Linked DNA regions of Homo sapiens: region 2 is linked to region 1. The links are contacts of gene promoters, found by promoter capture Hi-C in human tissues and cell types (Jung and others, 2019). All regions are on one chromosome and are shown on one strand. Each heading gives the region's core, a stretch centred on a gene start or on the middle of the fragment in contact. The rest is flanking DNA. Distances are from core to core; before and after follow the strand shown.

Evidence for each region. Contacts are between HindIII fragments. The study calls those that stand out against the background at their distance.
Region 2: a contact is called between a fragment that was not itself captured here and the fragment with the promoter of MTMR12 in region 1, in 1 of the 25 tissues and cell types used here (lymphoblastoid cells).

The regions. Positions count from the first base shown.
Region 1 is chr5:32,311,600-32,315,259 of GRCh38, forward strand. MTMR12 (myotubularin related protein 12) reads right to left here and starts at 1,340. Exons shown (of 16, transcript NM_001040446.3): 1 at 1,159-1,340. The coding sequence starts at 1,239. RefSeq lists silencers at 669-808, 879-1,668 and an enhancer at 1,759-1,808. The HindIII fragment of the contact is 13,800 bases long and covers 1-3,660 here.
Region 2 is chr5:32,613,985-32,617,970 of GRCh38, forward strand. No RefSeq gene overlaps it. Among named protein-coding and RNA genes, the nearest start is that of SUB1, 30 kb to the left of the region's middle. The HindIII fragment of the contact is 9,950 bases long and covers 1-3,986 here.

The sequences.
Region 1 (3,660 bases), core at 90-2,589:
TTACAGATGCAAAACAAGAAGGCTTCTCATTAGGCATTTGGATTAAGAACTATTGCTCAAGAAGCCCTGAGCAAGGCCTACAAGTTCTGATCTCTCTAACCTCCTCTCCTATGACTGTCCCCCTTGTCCATGGGCCTCTGCCATGCTGGCTTCCTTGACGCTCCGCCAACCCTTCAGACACACTCCCACCTCACGACCTTCCCGGGGGCTGTTCCCTCTACCTGGACGACTCTTCTCTCAGACCTCTCGTATCTTCAAGTCTCGGCTCAAATGCCACCTTTGCGAGGAGGAAAAAGATTTCTTTTCTTTCCCATGATATTTATCACCTCCTACTACACCGTATAATTTACTTAATTATCTATAATTCACCCCGTTTCTCCTTTCCCCCTCAAATAAGCTCCAGGAATGCAGAGATCTCTGTCCTGTTCACTGATGTCTATCACAAGCACTTAGTGCCTGACACACAGTAGGAGCTCGAGAAGTATTTTCTGAATGAATGAACAAATTTCTTGACCTGAAGATTCAGAAGAGTAAGAAGTGGGTGGAAAGGATGATGGTGAGGGGATGAGGAGAAAGAAGCGACAGCGGAGAATTCCCAAGGGAGAGACAAGCAGAGACTGGCTGAGGCCAGGCCGACCCCCTTTTCTCCCCGCAGCGCTGACGGGAGGCGGACGTAGGTGCAGGGCATCCCGCCAGCCGCACCCGAGGCACTCAGACGCAGGCAGCGGAGGCCGGCGGGCTTCTGGGCTCACTGAGAAAGTCCAGAGGCAGGACGGACCCACGCGGGCTCCGAGCAGGCCCCGTTGGGGGCTCCGACCCACGGCCCTACCCCTCCCAGCAGTGCCCACAACCCCAGGTCCTCTCCAGAATCCCCAGGGGCGTTCCGGGCCGCAATCCCTTCTCGGCTCGGGCCCCTCCACCAGCCTCCAGCGCTCGGGCCCTGCGCTCAGGCACCTGCCTGCCTGCGCCGGGGTCCCCATTCCGGCCCGCGCGGAGGCCCCAGCGCGCTCCTGCGGCCTCAGCCCGCCTGGCTGCCCCGTCGCCCGGCACAAGGGCAGGAAGCGCTCCGCGGCGCTCCCCGCTGCAAGGAAGGGGCTCCCGGCGCCCCTCGCCCCGGCCGCCCCTGCCCGACGCCCCGCCTGCGCGGCGCCCCCTCACCTCAGGGCGTACGTACGACACGAAGGAGGGCTTGGGGGCCTTGGTGCCGCCGCCACCGCCGACTACTCCTTTCCCCAGCATACCGCCGCCCTGGGAAGCAGCGACGCGCGGACGCAGAGGCGGCGGCTCGGGCTCCAGCTGGGGCAGCAGCGGCGGCCACCAGCACTAGCGGCTGGGGCTCCGCCCATCCCCAAGGCCGCGACCGCCGCGATGCCGCCCGCATCCGGCTCCGCCGCTGACACCGCTCGCCCCGCCCAGGCCCGTGGGCCCCGCCCATCCCGTGCGCGGGCCCAGAGAGCCGGGAGACCGCAACTGGAGGCCACGCCCCCCCATCACGTCAGGAGAGTTTGACCCGCCGAGATTCACCACCTTCCTGCGGCAGAGCCCGCCCTCATGCTTTCTCTGATTGGCCCGAGGCGCTGCCGGCCGAACCCCGCTCCCAACCCATTCTTGAGTGCACTTGGAGAGATGTTTCCTCCAACCAATCCAGAGAGCGTTCTCTCCGGACTTTCCAACGATTGGATGGCGAGGATAAAACCGTCGTCCAATGATCCTGCAGTCACCAAGTTGTCGTTAGCAGGGGTTCACGGCAGTCGTTTTCTTCCGTTTGCTTGTGTCTTTGGAATAAAACGTCCAAAAATGGGATGTATGGAATCTTGCTATAGGAGTTCCCAACTTACAGCGATGACGTTCAAGGTTTTTTATTTTATTATTATTTACTTTTGAGACGGAGTTTTGCTCTTGTCGCCCAGGCTGGAGTGCAATGGCGCGATCTCTGCTCATTGCAACCTCCGTCTCCCAGGTTCAAGCGATTCTCTTGCCTCAGCCTCCTGAGTAGCTGGGATTACAGGCGCCCGCCACTATATCCAGCTAATTTTGTGTGTGTGTGTGTGTGTGTGTGTGTGTGTCGTTCTGTCGCCCAGGCTTGAGTGCAATGGCGTAGTATAGGCTCACTGCAACCTCTGCCTCCCAGGTTCAAGCGATTCTCCTGCCTCAGCCTCCCGAGTAGCTGGGATTATAGGCGCCTGCCATCACACCCGGCTAATTTTTGTATTTTTAGTAGAGACGGGGTTTCACCATGTTGGCCAGGCTAGTCTCAAACCCCTAACCTCGTGATCCGCCCGCCTCAGCCTCCCAAAGTGTTGGGATTAGAGGCATGAGCCACCGCGCCATGCCGCTAATTTTTGTATTTTTAATGGAGACGGGGGTTTCACCATGTTGGCCAGGCTGGTCTCAAACTCCTGACTTCAGATGATCCACCCGCTTCGGCCTCCCGAAGTGCTGGGATTACAGGCGTGAGCCACCGCGCCCGACCTCAAGGTTTATTATTTTAAATGTAAACAAAAATGAGACAAACGATGACTCACGCCTCTAATCCCAGCACTTTGGGAGGCCGAGGCGGGTGGATCATCTGAAGTCAGGAGTTTGAGACCAGCCTGGCCAACATGGAGAAACCCTATCTCTACTAAAAATACAAAAATTAGCCTGGTGTGGTGGCGGGCGCCTGTAATCCCAGCTACTCGGGAGGCTGAGGCACGAGAATCGCTTGAACCAAGGTTGCAGTGAGCCAGGATCGCGCCACTGCACTCCAGCCTGGGTGGCAGAGCAAGACTGTGTCTCAAACAGAAAAAAAAAAGTGTCAAATCAAGTGTTAACAAGGCAGTGAGGAATAAGTTTGAGCGTTTGATAATAAAAGACTTTGTCAACTTCATTTTTCCAAACCTTTCCCTTCTTTGTGTTTCCAACAGGAAGAATATCAAGAGCCCTTAAGAGACTTCTATTTACTCTACGAAGTTATTGATAAAACCCTCATTTTTTAGTCAAGATTGCAAAGAAAATTCATTTCAGTTCTACATTTGGTGCCAAGCGTTGTTAGTTGCAGATAAATAAGATAGAATCCAGCTCTTAAGAAATTCAATCTAGTGGAAAAAAACATAAATATTTGCAGTTAATTTTTTAGGCGTCAGGCACTGTGCTAAGTACTCTCATTGGTGACCTTGATTTTTACCCTCTTAATCTCCATGTGCTCCCCCTTCCCAAATACACTCCAAGTAAATATAAAATCTTAGTGAAAACAAATGTGCTTGCTTTTGCAAACATAGTTTCAACGCAAGTCCTGCAGCTCCGTTTCCAGCTAGATTGCCACCTGTAAGCCAATATTTGGTATAGCTGTGCTGCAGCCGCCTCTGAGTTTCCTTATCCCAGTTTCCAGGTGACAAAACAGAGATGCAAGTAATTTGCCCAGGTCTCACAACTAGTCACTGAGAGAGCTGGGATTTCAACCCGGGTTTGTCTCATTCGAAATCCCAAGTTCTTAACATTATAATTATACAAATTAGAAAGGAGCACAATGAAAGTGTGGTCAATTCTATTTGGGGAGTCCAAGTTGAGGCCATCCTTACAAGGTTGAGAAGAATTCTGCACAAAAATAGAGTTATAACTAAGCATTAATCAGGCTGCAGTTCGGCCTGCTTCTTTGTATTAATAACTTCAGGTAACACT
Region 2 (3,986 bases), core at 165-2,664, 300 kb after region 1:
ACAGGTTTTGAGCTCCTGGGCTCAAGCAATTCCCCAGCCTTGGCCTCCCAAAGCGTTAGGATTACAGGTGTGAGCCACCATGCTCAACCAGGATATTAATTTTTAACTTTTATATAAAATAAAGTGAGGCTATATTTTCTAGTATTTTTCTTCAATCCTTCATAAATAGCCAACTCTAACAATTGGCTGAGCATGGCCAATTGGAATGCCATCAGTGAAGTATTTCCAAAAGCACTATTCTAAACACAATCCAAACTTGATTTCTTCAACAGTGGGATTGTGAGTTTACCAGGAACATGAAGAAAGGTTATCTGGCAGTGTTAGTGCACATTTGGTAGCGTTTGTTAGTGTTAGTGTTAGTGCAGGCTAATACTCACTATGTGCATGGAGGCTTCATAGGTCCAGTCGGCGGGCGTGGACTTCAAATAATCTCCACCTCCCGGGTTCAAGCGATTCTCCTGCCTCATCCTCCAGAGTAGCTGGGATTACAGGTGTGTGCCACCTTGCCTGGCTAATTTTTGTATTTTTAGTAGAGATGGGGTTTCGCCATGTCGGCCAGGCTGGTCTCAAACTCCTGGGCTCAAGGGATCCACCTGCCTCAGCCTCCCAAAGTGCTGGGATTACAGGCGTGAGTCACCGCGCCTGGCCAAGTTCTTTTTGTTTTGAAATAACTTCAGACTTTAAAGAAAAGTGTAGAAACAGTACAAAGGATTTCTGTAAGTACTTCACTCAAATTCCTACTTCACTCAAATTGTTAATATCTTATGTAACCACAGTACAATTATCAAATGCAGGAAACTAACATTGATACAATTATCTAATGGTACCAATTTTACAACTGTCCCACCAGTATCCTCATTTTTGGTCTCAGATCCAATCCAGAATCTCCCATTGTGTGTTTTTTTTTTTTTTTTTTTTTTTTTTTTTGAGATGGAGTCTCACTCTGTCGCCCAGGCTGGAGTGAAATGGCAGGATCTCGGCTCACTGCAACCTCCACCTCCAGTTTTCAAGAAATTCTCCTGCCTCAGCCTCCTGAGTAGCTGGGATTACAGGCACTCGCCAATGTGCTCAGCTAATTTTTTGTATTTTTAGTAGAGACGCGGTTTCACCATGTTGGCCAGGCTGGTCTTGAACTCCTGACCTTGTGATCTGCCTGCCTCAGCTTCCCAAAGTGCTGGGATTACAGGCGTGAGCCACTGCGCCCAGCCCTCCATTGTGTGTGTGTGTGTGTGTGTGTGTGTTTTGTCATGTCTCTGTTTCCTCTAAATTGAAGTACTTACTCTTTCTCGACCTTGATATTTTGGAATCATACATGTCATTTATTTTGTAGGATGTCTCTGAGTTTAGGTTGTCTGATGTATGCTGATTAAATTCAGGTTATGCATTTTTGATAGAGATACCATAGAAACGATGTAGGCTTCTCAGTACATCTTATCAGGAGGTACATGATGTTTATTTGTCCTATTACTGGTGACAACTTTGATAGTTTTGCCAAGGTGGTGTCTGCAAGATTTCTCTGGTGTAGTTTTTCAAGGGGAAAGGAGGAACACTGCGATGAGGAACAAACTTTGGTAGAAGGAGAATTTCTGCCCTGCCTCTGGTATTCAAGGTACATGCAAGTGAAGAAAAAACACCAGCCTCAATGAAGGCTGCAGGATCCACGTCCTCAGGGGAGTAAGTTTCAGTTAAAGCAGGAAAGTAAAGGGAACATTCAGAGAAGAAGTTGAGAATACTAGATAATTTGCCTGTGCAGAATCTGATGAAAGAGGGTACGGTGGAAAAAGTGGGAGATTGGGTTAGTTAGCAGGGATCCAGGGTAGTGTGAGGGGTGAGAGACCAAATGACAGATGCCCCAGGAGCTTGGAACACTGGTGGGATTGAGGTGAAAGGGATTATAGGGCTTGATTTCATTAGGCTGATGTCTCTTAATGTTGTTCCTTAAAGAGTGAGAGCAGCGGCATCTATCTTACCTGGAAGCTCATTAGAAATGTAGAATTCAGGCCCTACCTCAGATTTCCTGAAGCAGAATCTATGATTTTAACAAGAACCCCAGGTAATTTGTGGGCATCTTAAAGTTTGAAAAGCACTGTCTTCAGAAAACTGTGAGCAAACAGTTTAAGAAGCAACTGTGCAGCTGGCAGGTTGCTGATGTCAATAGCCTATGCGCCGGTGCTGGGGGTATAGCACCAGTGAGTCAAGCAGTCTGTGGCGCTTGCTTGCTTTCTTTTTTTCTGTTCTTGAGACAGGGTCTCACTCTGGTGCCCAGGTTGGAGTGCAGTGACGCGTTCTTGGCTCACTGCAACCTCTGCTTCCTGGGTTCAAACGATTCTCCTGCGTCAGTCTCCCTAGTAGCTGGGACTATAGGCATGCGCCACCATGCCTGGCTAATTTTGGCATTTTTAGTAGAGATGGGGTTTCACCATGTTGACCAGGCTAGTCTCAAACTCCTGACCTCGGGTGATCTGCCCACCTCGGCCTCCCAAAGCGCTGGGATTACAGGCATGAGCCACCGCGCCCAGCCTGCGACAGCTTTCTGATTCTGTGTTCTTGGCTACAGGAGCAGTAGCTTTCTGATTCTGCATTGCCTGTTGATGAGAGGTAGCAGCCTCCTTGGTGGTTCAGTTGAACAGTGTGGTTTGGCAGTCATTCTTGGAAGCTCAGTCTTTCTTTTAGCCCTTGTAATGATTCTGTGAACTCTATGTACCCACTAACAAATCTCTTTCTATTTTAACCAACTGGATTGGATTCTCTTGTCTGTAACTAAGAACTTGGACAAGAGCGGGTAAGTCACAGCAATATCTCATGGTCAGATGAAGGTGGAAGCAACCTTGGTGTGTGCCCTGGTTCACTGTGGGGTCACTAACGGGACCTCAGACAAAGGAATTTTGAGAGATAGGATGTAGCAAATTCATGGGTGGAGACCACTGGACTCCACTGAGGAACTGCTGTCACTACCCCCAAAAATGTCTTTCTGAGGAATGATCGCTGCACAATGAGGCCTTTTTTACAGTGAGTGACTTGTAGATAGCATGATACCATATTGTATGATTTTCAACATGTAAAGAGTTTGTTACAGAATGCACCAAGAATTAAAAAAAATATGGAATGTCAATAAGAAGGCAATTGAAAACTTGGGTAAAATTATCAGGAGTTGGGAGAGATGTAATGTGCTGTCCACTAGACACAGACATGCCCTGCTCACATCTACCCCCTACAAGAGGAGTCAGGATTCTGACTTCTCACAGCATAATATCTAAATAGAATTTTTAGGATGTATCCTTTTGCACTGGACTTCTTTCATTCAGCATTTTGTGTGTGAGGTCCATCCGTGCTGTTGTGTGTGAGGTCCGTCCGTGCTGTTGTGTGTGAGGTCCGTCCATGCTGTTGTGTGTGAGGTCTGTCCATGCTGTTGTGTGTGGTTATAGCTTGCTCACATTTATTGCTTTAGTATTCCATTGTGGCATTTCTCTGTATATTATGTTTAATGTGGACAATTCTGTCCAAGCCTAGTTCCTCTTATATAGGGTGGGTAAATTCTCCTGGACATTTCCCCCATCTCATTTAGGACCCATTAGTCTTAACTCTCTGAATGATGGTCAGACAGGTGGTTATTGCTTTACCTTCATTTTCCATACACCCGCAGTCCATGTTCTTTGTGGAGAGGAGGGTGTAGTAGGCAGGATCGGCTCTTTGGGGATCAAGTGCAGCCGTTGGTGGGGGTCCTGAGCTTTTATTATTTTCTTTGGAGCCATTGACATGTCCTGCTGGGACTTACTCCACCCAAACATTGCTGGGTGCCAGCCACCCTGATGGGCTTCACCTGTTCCCTCAACTCAACCCAGTTCTCTGGAGGAGACCGGGCAACACTTCTGCCTTCTGCCTCTGGCAAGGCTATGATGGGGGGATCACGGAGGGTTTTCCTTAGAATTTTTCCTTCTGGCCAGGCACAGGACTCATGCCTGTAATCCCAGCACTTTGGGAGGCCA